Regions from separate parts of the Homo sapiens genome. Here region 2 is linked to region 1. The links are contacts of gene promoters, found by promoter capture Hi-C in human tissues and cell types (Jung and others, 2019). All regions are on one chromosome and are shown on one strand. The core of a region is centred on a gene start or on the middle of the fragment in contact, and the rest is flanking DNA. Distances in the headings are between cores, read along the strand shown. Region 1 holds the start of GBA2 (glucosylceramidase beta 2). Region 2 has its middle 11 kb from the start of SPAAR.

What was found. Contacts are between HindIII fragments. The study calls those that stand out against the background at their distance.
Region 2: a contact is called between a fragment that was not itself captured here and the fragment with the promoter of GBA2 in region 1, in 1 of the 25 tissues and cell types used here (adrenal gland).

What each region holds. Positions count from the first base shown.
Region 1 is chr9:35,744,268-35,751,907 of GRCh38, reverse strand. GBA2 (glucosylceramidase beta 2) reads left to right here and starts at 2,680. Exons shown (of 17, transcript NM_020944.3): 1 at 2,680-3,562; 2 at 7,202-7,293; 3 at 7,496-7,611. The coding sequence starts at 3,204. RGP1 (RGP1 partner of RAB6A GEF complex) reads right to left here and starts at 2,621. Exons shown (of 9, transcript NM_001080496.3): 1 at 2,500-2,621; 2 at 2,037-2,171; 3 at 1,529-1,665; 4 at 1,167-1,250; 5 at 919-1,068; 6 at 496-642; 7 at 154-281. The coding sequence starts at 2,152. RefSeq lists silencers at 2,332-2,381, 2,412-2,461, 2,582-2,981. The HindIII fragment of the contact is 11,811 bases long and covers 1-3,567 here.
Region 2 is chr9:35,917,051-35,924,690 of GRCh38, reverse strand. No RefSeq gene overlaps it. Among named protein-coding and RNA genes, the nearest start is that of SPAAR, 11 kb to the right of the region's middle. RefSeq lists an enhancer at 221-1,420 and a silencer at 7,022-7,163. The HindIII fragment of the contact is 3,057 bases long and covers 1,032-4,088 here.

The DNA.
Region 1 (7,640 bases), core at 1,431-3,930:
TGAGAGGACAGCCCAACCTCAAGCTGTTTTACAAAGGGACCCTGGATGACCCCACTATCCCCTTCTACATGCCACCCCTCTTTATACAGGCCTTCCACCCTAGCCCTTCAACCCCAGCACCCCAGCAGGTAAGAAGCTCTGCTCCCTTCTTACCTGCAAACAAGCTACGGTTCCTTCCCCTAAGTTTAAGGTCCCCACCACGTCCTCGCCAAGTCTGTACACAGATTTGAAGATGCCAAACGTCCCAACTTTCCCTCGGCCATCACTGATATTGTATAGATCTGGGGAGAATAGGACACTATAAGCCTGGAGTCTACATACTGGATAACGTCTAGGACTGGGCACCACAGGCCAAAAGATGGGGCTTTTCTTTAAAATTGGAGGTGTCAGGTATCAGTGGATCCACAGAAGTGTGTGGTGGTTAGGAGACTGTCTCTGAGATGGGAAAACAATGAGGGGAAGGATGGGGTAGGACAATTCTGAAAGAATTCTCACGGAGGCTGCGGCAGGATGTGGCAGCCATTAGGCGTTCCCCAGCCAGCTCAGCTAGCCATGAATCTTTCTTCCCACCTTCATCCTCCTCCAAGAATGGACTGGATGGGGCTACAGCCTCATCCTGGGGAAACCGGACATCCTGAAGGCCTAGAGAAAGAATGAGTGGAGAGGTAATGCTGAGAGGGAACGGAGATGAGAGTAGAGGTTAGGGTTTTAGATTCTAACATGAGATGGCTAAAGGTAAGGGGTGCCAGGGCTGAGGTTTACATCTCTATCTCCAGAACCCTCCCTCCCTTCCCAACTCCCTAGCACTGTCACTGAGACCAGGAAGTTTCCCTGCAGTCCCTCTTGCAAGCCCTCTAAGACAATTTCTGCTTTGGCATCGCCCTTCCCCAGCCCTTCCCTCCAGGAGCCCTTGCTTACCAGTCAGCACAAGAACCCTCAGAGGGACTCTGAGTAAAGTGATAGGGGAGTTGACACGCTGGCAGCCAATGGTCAGTTTGTAGACGTACTTGACTGACTGACCCCGAAAGGAGGGTGGTCCCTCTATGGGCAGCACTTCACTGTAGGAGTCTGGTTGGGAAGTAGTTGTCAGGACAGCCAGAGGCACCAGAGGAGTCCTCCCTCCAGGAGACTTAGAAGGCAATTCAGGGATGGGGACAATCACTCACATGATTTGGACTCTCCAGGATCAAGCCTCAGGTCACAGAATAGAATTTTCGGTGGAGTAGAAAGGATACACTGGCCCCTCTCACCTGAAAAAGGTAAAAATGACTAATTTAATGACCCATTGTCCAGTACTGAACAAGACTAGCACGGCAAGTGGAGATAGTGAAAGGCTGCCAGGCCCTCCGTCCCTGCTGTGAAATGGGAATAGTCTTCTACCCCTAAAGCAATAGTCATGCTCCCCAACATCCCCAGCATGACAGGGACTATAAGAACAAGAACAATTAACAACTTCACCCATGGGTGACAATGCCTCCACACACACCCTCCGCACCCCCCCTCTCCCAGGCAAATGCCCCTCTCTAACCTCGGTGTGGCAGAAAGACAGTCTGGCTGTCGGGCTGGACATCTGGCTGACTAGAGTCAGGAGGAGGCAGTGCTACTCGACTCTCACTGGCATGGAACTGGCAGTGGATTTGGGCACTGGCCCAGGCCAGGGCCTCACTGTGGGAAAAGGAAAAGGAGGCATCAGAGGTAGTTCCTGACCTCACAAATGCTTTCCCAAGCTCCCTATCACACCATCTTAACCAACAAGGTTAGATGGCTGTCCTAGTGATCAGGAAATCCACAATCCCAAAGAGAAACCATTAAATAAAGAGTAGCAGACTGTGCGTAAAAAGGGGAACGGGGGAGGGGAAGGAAAGCGTACAGCTATGTCATCCACATCTTCTGTTAAAGAGCCCTCTCCTACAATGACAGCACAGTGAGCAAGAGGAGGTGGTGTCGCTACAGGACAACCTGAGCTCTGCCTCAGCCCCAGAGATAATCTGGCTTCTTCCCAGAAGGGCCACCACCTTCAGTGCCAGCATCCCCACCTGGATGCAGAAGTGGCCGTGGGCGGAAGGGGGTTGGTGACGGTCACTACACACTCCAGCGCCTCCCCAGCCAAAAATACAGGACCCCGGCTGAGCTCTGCTACCACTTCAATCATGGCAGCTCCGGAATCAGATCTAGAAGGAAACAAGGCGGGGCGGAGGTCAGCACCTTGACAGGGAGGGGCGTTGCGGTGAGCACCTAGGGCTGAGGGCTGAGGACAGGGGTGGTCAGCACCGTGGTGCCCGAGGGAGCTCCTGGATATAGGAGGGGTAGGCGGGTGGGAGGGAGGCGACTGAAGACTCAGTACTGCCCAGGGGGAGGACATCGCTCTGGGCCCTAGACCCCAGCCCCTGTGCGACGGGTTCTTCTCCCTGGGCACCCCCGCGGAGTTCCCAAACTGGCCTCCGCTCCCCCTTTCCTCAAAGTTCCACGTCCCAGCCCAAGATCACCGCCGCTAGTCACCTCGCATAGTCGACACTAGGGATCGGCACCCCTAGGCCTCATCTGCCCGCCCCTCAGGGACCTGGCTAGGTACGCGGCGGCGGCGGCGGCGGCGGCGTCCGCTGGGCGGTAGAGGCGGGACTTCCCTTCGGTCCCCCACCCTCCGCGGAGTCCCTTCCGGCCGGAAGCGCCCGGCAGGCCAGACCGGAAAGGGCTCGGGTCATCCCGGCGCCCAGGGTCACCTTCCCACGGGCTGGCACCTGGGCGCGGGCGCTGCCCCGGAGCCGGCCGGCGGGACCTGGCGCCCAATCCTGGGGGACCCGGTGCCGTGGCCCAGGGGCCGGGCCGAGGTCCCGGGGGCGGTGCCTTGCGGGCCCGTCCCGGGGCGGTGCCTGGTGGGCTGGCCCCGCGGCTCCTCCCCTCTCTGCGGGCCCAGTCGCCCTTTGGCCGGGCGAGCTAATCGTCGGCTCAATGACGACGAGGCCCGACCCTTCCCGTCCAGGACCTACAGAGACAACCGAAGGAGAGCCCAAGGCGGCTTCTTTGCTGTCGCCGCCCCCACTGAAGCAAGAGCTCCCCGGCTCCACTGAAACACCAGCTCATTTAAGCTTTCCCCAACGCCCGGCCCTCCGGGACGATACCTAACAACGACCGGCGCCCGCATCTGGAATAGGCTGGCGAGATACTTAGTATCCGAGGGCTCGGGACTTGGCGCCATCGAGGTCATGGGGACCCAGGATCCAGGGAACATGGGAACCGGCGTCCCAGCCTCGGAGCAGATAAGCTGTGCCAAAGAGGATCCACAAGTTTATTGCCCTGAAGAGACTGGCGGCACCAAGGATGTGCAGGTTACAGACTGTAAGAGTCCCGAAGACAGCCGACCCCCAAAAGAGACGGACTGCTGCAATCCGGAGGACTCTGGGCAGCTGATGGTTTCCTATGAGGGTAAAGCTATGGGCTACCAGGTGCCTCCCTTTGGCTGGCGCATCTGTCTGGCTCATGAGTTTACAGAGAAGAGGAAACCCTTTCAAGCTAACAACGTCTCCCTAAGCAACATGATAAAGCATATAGGCATGGGCTTGAGGTGAGTAGACCCCATTGCCTAGAATGCCTTTGGCTTCACTTTGTTCCAGCTCAAAACTTCTAGCAGAGGTGGGAAAGGGCAAGAAAGCAGTTGGGCTTCTTGTCTGAGTGAAGCGGTCCCTATCCCTGGCATATTTTAGGCCTGTGGTTTTGGACCGTGAGACCAGGTCACATCTCTTTGCAACACCCTTCCCTCCCAGTGTTTTGTCTTTTCAGAAGGAAAGGGTAGGAACATTTGGTCATGCAATCAGCCTTTCCCATTCAGGCTCTTCTCACATACTGGTTTCCAATGACTTCCCTTTGGGATTAGCTATACTTTGTGGCAAGGTAGGAAAGGATAATCTGGCTGCTGTGATACTAACACAATGTTGTTTTATTTGGGGGTGGGGGGGTCTCAACCCCTTATTTCCCACAAGCAGCTGGGGCATTCTCTGTACCTCATTAGACACACTGTTAGAGTCCCAACACTACTGCTTCTTTCTTCAAGCTTTAGCTCCAGGGAGTAGGTAAGAAGAGCCTCCCTGCCCTCACCTCTGAAGTGATGAGAAGGTGCTGTCATTCTGTTCTGGGATAGAGAGCTCTTGATATTAAGTCATTTATCAGAGAGGCACTGCCATAGATGTAGAACCCATCTAGATCCCCACTGAGTTCAAAGACTAGTGATGAGGAGCCAGACCCATTAACAGGAACAGGTGGATGTGAGGACAGAAAGCATCACCCTGAGGTCATCCTGACTCAGTCTACACAATACACACAGAACTGTGGAGGGAGGCATAAAGCTTGGGAAACCCTGCCCTTACAGTTTCTAGAGTAGGAGACCCTTCATTTCCCCAGTCAGTGCTGTGGGGCTGTGATGGGGAGATCAGTTATCTAACCCTAGCCCTGGGGAGTGGGAAGGGCCTGATGCTGCCTGCACATCTGGCTTTGTTGGTGCCTGTGGGTAGCCTGTAGCAGAGAAGAATCATCCCTCCAGGCTGCTTCTGGAATCAATTCAGTCCAAGTTTGACCCCAAAAGTTTTTGCATCAAAATAGGATCTAGTGTACATAGAGAAGTACACTGAGTTGCATGTGGTAGGAACAATGAGATCAAGAAAAGATGGGCATCCTAGCCTCTTAGCCCTTAAATATGAACTGAGTCATAGAGGCCTGAAGCTGTGCTCAACCCCCTGGACCCTGGCTCCCCATTCCAGGATAGAGTGGGGGGTACTGATACAAGGCTTTTGGAATAGGATGAGTTCCTATGAGGAGAAAGCACAGGTGAGACAAGAATTCTAAGTGATAACTCTTGAGTTGAGGTTGAAATTGTGGAGAAGGCCAAATAGGTCAGGAATGGCCAGCTACCATATTAAGGGAGTAAGAGAGCTCCTAAGATGGAGCTGAACTGTGGGCACTCTGACCAGGAGCTCTAGCAAGACAGAATTCTCTGGGTCTTACCTTCGTAAGAACTCAATTTCAATTGTTCTCCCTTCCAGCCAGAGTCCACTCATTCAATAAATATTTATTGAGTGCTTGTTCCATGCCAGATAGTCCTTTGTTCTGTCTGTCCTCATAGATTGCAGTTACTCTCCCTGGTTGCCCTAATCCTCGGCCACACCCTCCCTCTACCAGTCCTTTCTGGTCTCTAGTTTCAAAGTCCGGTTTTCTCTAAGCTGGCAGAGAGGATTCTCTGCCTTCCTGTCATCCCATCCTTTGTCTTCCCTCTTCTTTCCACCCCTAGAATGTGCTGTCCCTTTTTATTTTATTATTATTTTTTTTTTGAGACAGTCTTGCTCTTGTCACCCAGGCTGGAGTACAATGGTGCAATCTCAGCTCAGTGCAACCTCCGTCTCCTGGGTTCAAGCGATTCTCCTGCCTCAGCCTCCTGAGTAGCTGGGATTGCAGGTGCCTGCCACCACAGCTGGCTAATGTTTTTGTATTTTTAGTAGAGACGGGGTTTCACCACATTGGCCAGGCTGGTCTTGAACTCCTGACCTCACGTGATCCGCCCACCTCGGCCTCTCAAAGTGCTGGGATTACAGGTGTGAGCCACCGTGCCTGGCCGCTGTCCCTATTCATTAATCACATTTCTTCTCCTCTGCTCCAGTCTGTTATCTCTCTTGTGCCCCATCATTTGTATGTTCATTCATCTGTAAAATTGGCAAATATGCATTGACTGCAGACCATATGTCCTACCCTGTGCTTGGACCTGAGGGTAATATTCAGCTAGTCTTTGTCATTGTCCCTTTCCCCAAGGAACTTAAAAGTATGTCAGCCTCACATGAGGAACATTGAAATAACAAGGCAATGTCTGATTAGGAATTGAGATAACAGTTTGTATATATGAGTAATAATCATACCTGTACTTTATGGCTTTCTTATCTATTATGTCATTTGATCTTTCAACCATTTCATTAGATAGCTAGAGCAGGTGGTATCCCCATTTTGTAGATGAGGAAACTGGGACTTAGGGGTTACTTACCCAATTATTTGGTTAGAAGTGGTGTGACTGAACAGTAGGCATAATGTGGCAGTAGGCAGGAGAGTGGAAATGGGAAAGAGTCTGGCAGGGCAGGGGCTACTTAGTGAGGACCCATCTGGAATGAGAATTTGTAGGAAATAAGATTAGAAGATAGGCTGGGACAGATGTCAGAGCCTTGAAAACAGAATCGTTTGCCTATTGAAAACAGCCTCAATCATTTGCCTCTTGGATATAGGGCTGTACCAAGCCCAGGAAAATGTTGGGATTTTTTGAAGGCTTTACCAAGAGCAAAATCAGAAAGCTTCACAGTTTAAATGTTGAATTTAAAAAAAAAAAAAAAAAAGGCTTGAGAGGAAATGTCCAGAAATAAATATAAACACTGATTGTCTATGGGTGAGATTATTTTTTTCCCCCTTTCACCTTTCATAATTAGAAAGAAAAATGATCATTTTAAAAAGAAGAAAGGCCAGAAGCGGTAGCTCACGCCTCTAATCCCAGCACTTTGGGAGGCCGAGGCGGGCGGATCACCTGAGGTCAGGAGTTCAAGACCAGCCTGGCTAACATGGTGAAACCCCATCTCTACTAAAAACACAAAAAAATGTGCCAGGCATGGTGGCGGGCACCTGTAATCCCAGCTACTTGGGAGGCTGAGGCAGAAGAATTTCTTGAACTTGGGAGGCGGAGTTTGCAGTGAGCCAAGACCGAGCCACTGCACTCCAGCCTGGACAACAAGGAACGAAACTCTGTCTCAAAAAAAAAATAATAAATAATAAAAATAAAGATAAGAAAGTTATTCCCAGCAGCCTATGCCTGTTTTGGAGGTAGGGGATTGGGGGCGGAGGCTGTAGGCCAGGAAACCATAAATGGTCCTTTCAGCACGTCAGACAGAAGCTCCTGATGTTGGAAATAAAGCAGTGGTGGTGGTGCTAGAGAGGTAAGGAGAGATCAGAAAGCCCCTTCTGAGGAGAACAAAGGAGAGAAACAAAGCCACTCCTTCACTTCAGCTGGGGTGACTGGGAAGATGAAGGGACCTTGAACTGTATAGAAATCAAGAGGAAGAAAGGTTTGAAAGCAGATGTCCTTGGGACATTTAATGGGAGGTCACAGAGAGAGGCAGGTGACTCAGCCTGTGAACAGCTGCCCACCTGCCCCCTTCCACTCACATTGCCTCTTGCTCCTCAGGTACCTGCAGTGGTGGTACCGGAAGACCCATGTGGAAAAGAAGACACCTTTCATCGACATGATCAATTCTGTACCCCTAAGACAGATTTATGGTGAGCCCCACCCCATCTCTGCTCTGCTCAGAGAAGGCCTAGCCTCCAGGTCTACCACAGTTAGGAAGAGACTTCCAGCTTATGCAAATTGCACTGTTCCATCCCCTAGGTTTTCAGAGGAACCAGGCTTTATAGTCTAGAAAGTTAGAAATGGGCTTATTTTCCTCTCCCAATACCCCACTAACCACCCTGATTTCTCTAGGTTGTCCCTTGGGTGGCATCGGGGGAGGCACTATTACCCGTGGCTGGAGAGGCCAGTTCTGTCGTTGGCAGCTTAACCCTGGAATGTATCAGCACCGGACAGTCATCGCTGACCAAGTAAGAGCCAGGAGGTGGAGAGGCCAGGA
Region 2 (7,640 bases), core at 1,311-3,810, 170 kb before region 1:
GCAGAGGTTGCAGTGAGCCGAGATTTCACCACTGCATTCCAGCCTGGGCGACGGGAGTGAAACCCTGTCTCGAAAAGAAAAGAAAAGGTCATAGTCATTTGTGAAAAGACCTTTGAGTATTAAAAATCTGAAAACTTCTTTTACCAACTTAGAGGAGTATAAAAGCTTATTCATCAGCCTTCTTGGCAGATGGGAAGACAGGCATGCATGAAACCACAGCCTCTTCTATTCCAAATGTATCATCCATTATCACTAGATGCAGCTGCCTCCCCCACACTCTCTGAGTCACTGGGTAATGCTACAGTCTTTCATTTTCACCTCCATTACAAACCTTTCAAGGATTCTTGCTAGTAGCTTTTGCTTTCACTAGGAACTTCCCAAAGGCAAAATTACAACAAATTATTTGTAATGATCAAATTGGCTTTTATTTGTGATTCTAGAATCAGGCAACACCTCATTCTACGAAATAGAATGAGTATTCCAGTGAAGTGGGCAGAGAAGTTTGGCTTTATGGATAAAAGAGGGCTGAAGAAAGCAGAAACAGGGAACAAAAAGCAGATTGGTCATTTCAAAGTTGCTTTCCTTATAGGGTTAAAGCAGAGGGCACTTTTTATTGTGCTGATTCAGGGTGACTGGAAGCTCCTGCGTTTTTGGAAAACTGCCTCATTTCAAAGTCCGGTTTGATGACTTGGCAGTTAGCACAGGTGACTCTGCTCTGGTTTGATCTGCTCTGCTAGGGCCAGTGTAGGAGGCTAGTCCAAAACAATGGCCTCCCATAAACTATGTAACAGAATACAATGCACTGGTGTGCTGTTTAATTTGTTTCAGTTATGAGTGATAGAAAACCACATATCAATAGTGGTTTAAATAAGACTGTTTTGCTTTGGTATAAAAGCCTGGAAGAAGGCAGTATAGGACTGATATGGGCTCCCACAGTATCAGGAACCCAGGCCCCTTTTATCTTATTGTTCCCCCAAATGGGGCTTCTACTCCCAAGGCCACTCTGGTCCAATCTGACTTCTGTAGCTCCAGCCATTATATCTACATTCTGGCCAGATAAAGGAGAAAAAACAAAGAAGAGTATTCCGCCTCTATTTAAGGACATTTCCCAGAAGTCACACACCACTTCTACTGGCCATTCCTAGTTCCAAGAGGGACTGTGTTGATGTTATTGTTGTTTTTCTAATAAGGAAAAAGAGGAAAACTGAGGTTAGGAGACAAGTAGACCCCTGTGCACAGGGTCAGACATAAAGTCAAATGATCACCGATGCAGCTCTGGTGCGGCCTCTCTGAAAAATCACCAAACTTAACACCAAATCCTAAGGACTCCATACCTCAAACCCCTTAAAATGAGATCAATGAAAATGAGCGGTGGCCAAAATTGGGACCCAGGAGAATGTATCCAGTAGGATCACGATCAGTCAAGCAAATAGGTTTTACTTGGGTTTCCTGGATTTGTGTTGTGTTTTGTTTTGCTTTGTTTGAGATGGAGTCTCCCTCTGTTGCCCAGGCTGGAGTGCAGTGGCACAATCTCGGCTCACTGCAACCTCCATCTCCCGGGTTCAAGTGATTCTCCTGCCTCAGCCTCCCGAGTAGCTGGGACTACAGGCGCGCACCACCACGCCCAGCTAATTTTTATATTTTTAGTACAGATGGGGTTTCACCATGCTGGCCAGGATGGTCTTGATCTCTTGACCTCATGATCCACCTGCCTCAGCCTCCCAAAGTGCTGGGAATACAGGCACGAGCCACCGTGCCCGGCCAGATTTGTGTTTTTATGCAGGAATTCCTTCCCAGCATTTCTCGGAAATACTGTTTTTCCAAATGCCAATTCCTGAGAAAAAGAAGTTAAGACATCTAGGAACCTGGTAAGAGTGTTTTTGTGTGAGAATTAAAGCTTAGCAATCAACATGTTGAACTAGATGTGACTAGTTCAAAGGAATCCACTGACACCAAATCAAAAGCGAGAGTAGAAAATACTGAGGCACCCATAGGAAAGTTAAGTTCTGAATGGAACTGGGGAGTAGAGGAGAGAAAAGGCCATCATCTAATCAGTCTTCCGACTGCTGTTGCCAGGGTAGAGGTGGTGGTGGGCTAGCGCTGGCTCAAGAAGAGCCAGTTGTATGCTGCTCTTCCCAGCTCTCAGTGACATCCCCTCGGTAGCTGGGCATTGACCATTGTGGGAACATTTATGCCTCCCCTCAGAATTTGGCAAACCCTACATATAAGGGTTTTTTTTTTTTTCTCCAGGAGAGTCAGTTTACCAGCACACACTGGTTATAAGTGTGTGTTTGTGACCTGGTCTGCTTCTAATGGTAAGTCATTTTTGCAAATAAAACAAATATTGGTAAGTTTGTACACATAGGATACTTATACAAGTCCTATGAGCAGTGTCGGAAAAAAATAACAAATTTTGAAAGCAAAATAAGTCTTGAAACTGGCAATTCCAACAAGTGATTCTATGAACCTTGTTAGTGAGTCTGAATGTTAGTTATTTGAACACTTCCCAGTAATGATTGCTGGCATTTCCACGTGTTGAATATTCATTATAGGCTACAGTTCTTTGTAAATACTTTAACAGAAGAGATGCAAAAAGAAGACGTGATTGCTGTTATAGAACACTCCAGAAGGAAATCAGAAATTGCTCTAAAATCTGAATTAGCAAGAGCAATATTGATCTCAATGGCAAAATCAAGACCAGAGTAAGCAGACCAAAAAGTAAAAATAAAAATAAAGCATCATTTAAAAAGGAAATGAGCTTCTATAAAACAACATGTACCCTAATGGCTAACCTGAAGATGTTAGGGGCACACTCAACCAACATCAATGAAAAATGAAAAAACAAAAAAGTTTCCTACATCTAGAATATTTGTCACAAAACAAAGATCAAAACTATCAGATAGAGCAATTAAAGCTTTGTGTTTTAAAAGTTCATTTTAAAAATAACTTTTAAAATTAAATGTTTGTGCTATTATTTTTCCATTTTTAAGTGATTTTTATCTGGCATTTATTTTGCAATAATGTTCCCTCCTTTTTAATGTTTTCTATATCCAGTGCCTATATCAGGTGGAGATAATTTTTATGTTATTGAAATAATCTTGTCACAACATATTGGTTCATAATAATAATAAACCTTAAGGAAAAAGTCTGGAACTTTTAGCATCAATTTGTCACTGACAATTATTAACTGTTTATTATTCTGGTCATTCATTATTATTTAAAAGTATGTGAATATAATGTTATAGAAAATATGAGCCAGGCGCAGTGACTCACACCTGTCATCCCAACACTTTGAAAGGCTGAAGCAGGAAGATAGCTTGAGGCCAGGAGTTCAAAACCAGCCTGGTCACATAGTAAGACTCTGTCTCTAGAAAAGAAGAAAACAAAATAGCCAGGAGCACCCTAATGGCTAACATGAAGATGTTAGGGGCACACTCTATAGGCATGTACCTATAGTCTCAGCTACTCGGGAGGCTGAGGAAGGAGGGTCACTTGAGCTCAGGAGTTCGAGGCTGCAGTGAGCTATGATCGTACCACTGTACTCCAGCCTGGGTGACAGAGTAAGATCCTGTCTCCAAAAAAAAAAAAATTTAATGTATAATTTCAGGAATGCTCATGAATTCCCAGAAATTTCAATTTCTCATTCCTGAATACTGAACAGAAGTATTCGCGGGGAATTTGGAAACATTATTCTGGAGCTTTCAAACCTTTTAAAGCAGCAGACCCCTTTTTATCAAGCAAAATCTACCTGGGAAACAGAAGATATAAAAGAGGCAAAAATGAGGCTCTGGCTGAAGGAGAGGGGATAATATGGTCCTGTGCTGAACTTTGTGACCAATTTGTTGAGTGACTTGGAGTGGGGCCTGTCACTTTTGTGTCTCTAAGTCTTGGTTCCCTCATCCGTAAACTGCGGTTAATACAGCCTGCTTTACTGGGCCCCAAGGCTTGTTATGGGAGACAACTGAGAGATGCCTGGGAAAGAGCTTTGTAAACTTAGGACACCTTGAAGGCCATTATGTGCCAGACAGATGTCAATGTCGCTATTCCGAGGCTCTGCACTGACCTCAGAGGGTTTCCAGCCTGAGGAGAGGGGACGTCCACACACTGGATACAACCCTCGTCATAGGAGCCAGATGAGCAGAGCTGGGACTGGAGCCCTGAACTCCAGTGCCTCCTCCCGGCTGCTCTCCTGGGACCATCTCTCTGCCAGTGTTTGTCTCTTTTATGGGCTGGGGCTACAGGGTGCAAAGAACACCTTGGGTTTAAAGTGCAGCCATTCTGTAAGTAGCCAGGATCAGGCTGTAAAACAGAAAATTTTATCCCTCACATAAAAATTATGGATTACGAAAAGGGGAGTGTGAGTTTTGAGGAAGTTCAAAGTTCACTGAAATGGAGGCCAGAAAGTTATATTTTAGTCTGGAAGTGCCATAAAATGTAGAGGAATATGTCAGTTCCCCTTTCAGAACTTCAGCTCTCACCTCTGTAGAAGCCAGGAGGGCTTGAATGACTCCACTTTTCCACTCAGAAGATCCACAGTGTCTCATTCCCCAGATGAGCTCACACAGAAAAAGAACTCAAGTTGGTCCATCTGTTTCCTGAGTGGCCTTGCTAAGTGGAGCTCTGGTCTCCCTCAACCCAGGGAGTCCTTTTTGCAAATAACAGCTGTTTGTCACAGAACAGGACAGTCAAGTTTGCTTTCTTAACCTGTGTTATCTTAACATTAAAAAAGTTATTATGTGTTAAAATAGGAGGCCATTGATTTGAATTAGTGTCCTTTACTGAGCCTAGCAGACCAAACCAATATGAAGCCATCACGCTTAATGAAACTAATTACTTTAGGAATATATTCTTGCAAATGGTTGAGGTTCAGTGAGTCACACAGCTGAACTTAATGAACTACAGTAGGTCAGCTGAGTTGAATAAGGTAAGACGTTTAGGTAGAACTAATCAACCAATTAAGCTGTAACCAATTAAGTTGTCTCTGTATCTCACTTCTGTTCTCTCTCTATCTACAAATGTTGCCTGATCATGGTGTTGGCCTGAGTTCTCTGAAAGTTCTCTGAACCTGTTTTGGTTCTGGGGGGCTGCCTGATTCCCAAATTGTTTTTTGTTTCTCTTTGTTTTGAATCATTTTAATTGGTCAAGTAAACTGTTGAACTTAGTTAGTCTAAGGATTTTTCCTTTTAACATTGTAATAAAAAGCAACACATGCTTGTTCAAATAAGGTGGAACAGGACAGAAGGATATGAAGTAAAACATAAGCTTCCTTCTTCCTCCAAGCCTGTCCCCCAGAGGCCATCACATCCTTCCTGACATTTTCCTAGGTTCATACAAACACATACGCATATGTGTAATTTAGGAGGTTTTTTTGTTCTTATTTTTGTTTTCTTGAGGAGGAAAAGTGTTTTTTGGTTTGTTTGTTTTTGTTTTTGTTTTATGAGACCATTCTGTAACTTGCTGTTTTTTCTCTATGTATAGAGGGCAGTTTCCAAGTCAGTACATTTTTGTAATGGCTGCCTATTATTCCATTTTTTGTGGCTGTATCATAATCTTTATGTATTTCCCAATTGATGGGTACTTGGATTTTTATAATGTTTTGCTAATAGAAACAATACTGTAAGAACAACCTTGGACGTACATGCTTGCACACTTGCGTGGGTGTTTCTGTAGGGTAAGGATAAGGATGACTGGGTTTGCACATTGCCCAACACCTGGTGCAGGGCCTGACAATTGTCACATTATCACTCTCATCCTACTTACTAGGAAATGTAATTTCTGACTCCCTTCCCTATCTCTAAGTGGTCAGCCCACCCATACTCCAGACCCAACAGCCTTCTTCAGCTGTAAGACCTGACCCCCTCAGAGGCCACCTTTCTCTGTCTCTTGGCGGCCAGGAATAGATTTAACTAGAGGAGCTAATTCAAGGCTAAGTCTTTGTGAGCACTAATGGTTGAGCTAAGAATACTTTGTTGCTATAACAACTTAGCATAAATATAGTGGCTTAAAACAACACAAATGTATTATCTTATAGTTCTGGAGATCAGAGACCAAAATAGGACTCACTAGGCTAAAATCAAAATGTTGGCAGGGCAGGCCGGGCGCGGTGGCTCACGCCTGTAATCCCAGCACTTTGGGAGGCTGAGACGGGCGGATCACAAGGTCAGGAGATCGAGACTATCCTGGCTAACACAGTGAAACCCCATCTCTACTAAAAATACAAAAAACTAGCCGGGCGGGGAGGTTGAGGCAGGAGAATGGCGTGAACCTGGGAGGCGGAGCTTGCAGTGAGCCGAGATCGCACCACTGCACTCCAGCCCGGGCGACAGAGCGAGACTCAGTCTCAAAAAAAAAAAAAAAAAAAGATGTTGGCAGGGCTATGTTCCCATCTGGAGGCAACTGGGGAGAATGCTTTTCCTTGTCTTTTCCTTTCTGGTTTCTAGAGACTCTCACACTCCTTGGCTGGTGGCCTGCTTCTGTCTTCAGGTCTTTCTTACATCACCTGCCCTGACTCCTCTGCCCTCCTCCTCCACAGTGAAGGGACATTTCTTACTGCATTGGGCCTGCCCAGATAATCTGGGATAATCTTATTTAAGGTCTACCGATTAGCAACTGTGATTTCATCTGCAATCTTAATTCCCCTTGGTGAACATAACATTTTCTCAGCTTCTAGGGATTAGGACATGGACATCTTTGAGGGATGATTATTATGCCTACCACAGATAGCGAACTCTGAAGGTGGGAACAGAGACCCACCCAATAGCCCTCTAAGGAGTTAGGTCTGTGTCCAAGAAAGAGCTCTCTGGCGGCCGGGTGGGCAGGGGTGAGGTGAGGCCAGGGAGGCCCATAAGGAGATGACATGGTGAGGTCTGCGCAAGCACAGTGACAGTGGGGATGATGGAGGACATGCATCCACCCCTTGCCTCAGGCCAGGCCCCACACCAGGGCTGTGGCTGTGCCTGTATCTCAGGAGGACAAGGACAGAGGGTCCCTGTATGAGCCACCACAGCCCTGGCTTCCTAAGTGGGGTCCGTAGGCAGCTGACAAGGCCTCAGCCTGGAAGTCGTAGGTGGTTGCCAGGAAGCTCCTCCCCAGCTGTGGACCCTGCTGTCTCCCTCCACTGCTGGGATGGGGAAGAGTTGCTTTGGCAGGCTCCTCAGTCTTGCCTGAACTGGGGAGCTGGGATTAGGAGCCTTACCCTGTCCCAGGAGGTGCAGGCTGGGTGTCGTACAGCCAGGCCTCTCACTCAGGCTAGTGAGCCCCAGGCTGCTCCCTGTACTCTCCTCAGCCCACCCAACCTGCCCAGAAGCTCCAGCAGCCACCCCAACACCCAGACTCCGGTGTTCCTGGAAACTTGGCAAACCCCTACCGCTTGCAACTCCCCAGCCTTGCCTACCTCAGCCATGTGAATTAGGCAGAAGAGAGGTGTGTGTCTGTGTGTATGTGTGTGTGTGTCCTTATCATTGTATCTGTTCTGAGAAATTCATCTGCCCCCATTTTTGTGTCTATGCCTGACTGTGTTTTTGTATCTCTTAGATTGGAGTTGGTTTGTTTTATAATTTTTAAAATAACTTTTGTTCCTTTGTTAGGTTCTTGCTCTTTCTTATTCAAGAGCAAATCATTCATTATGAGAAATTCAGATA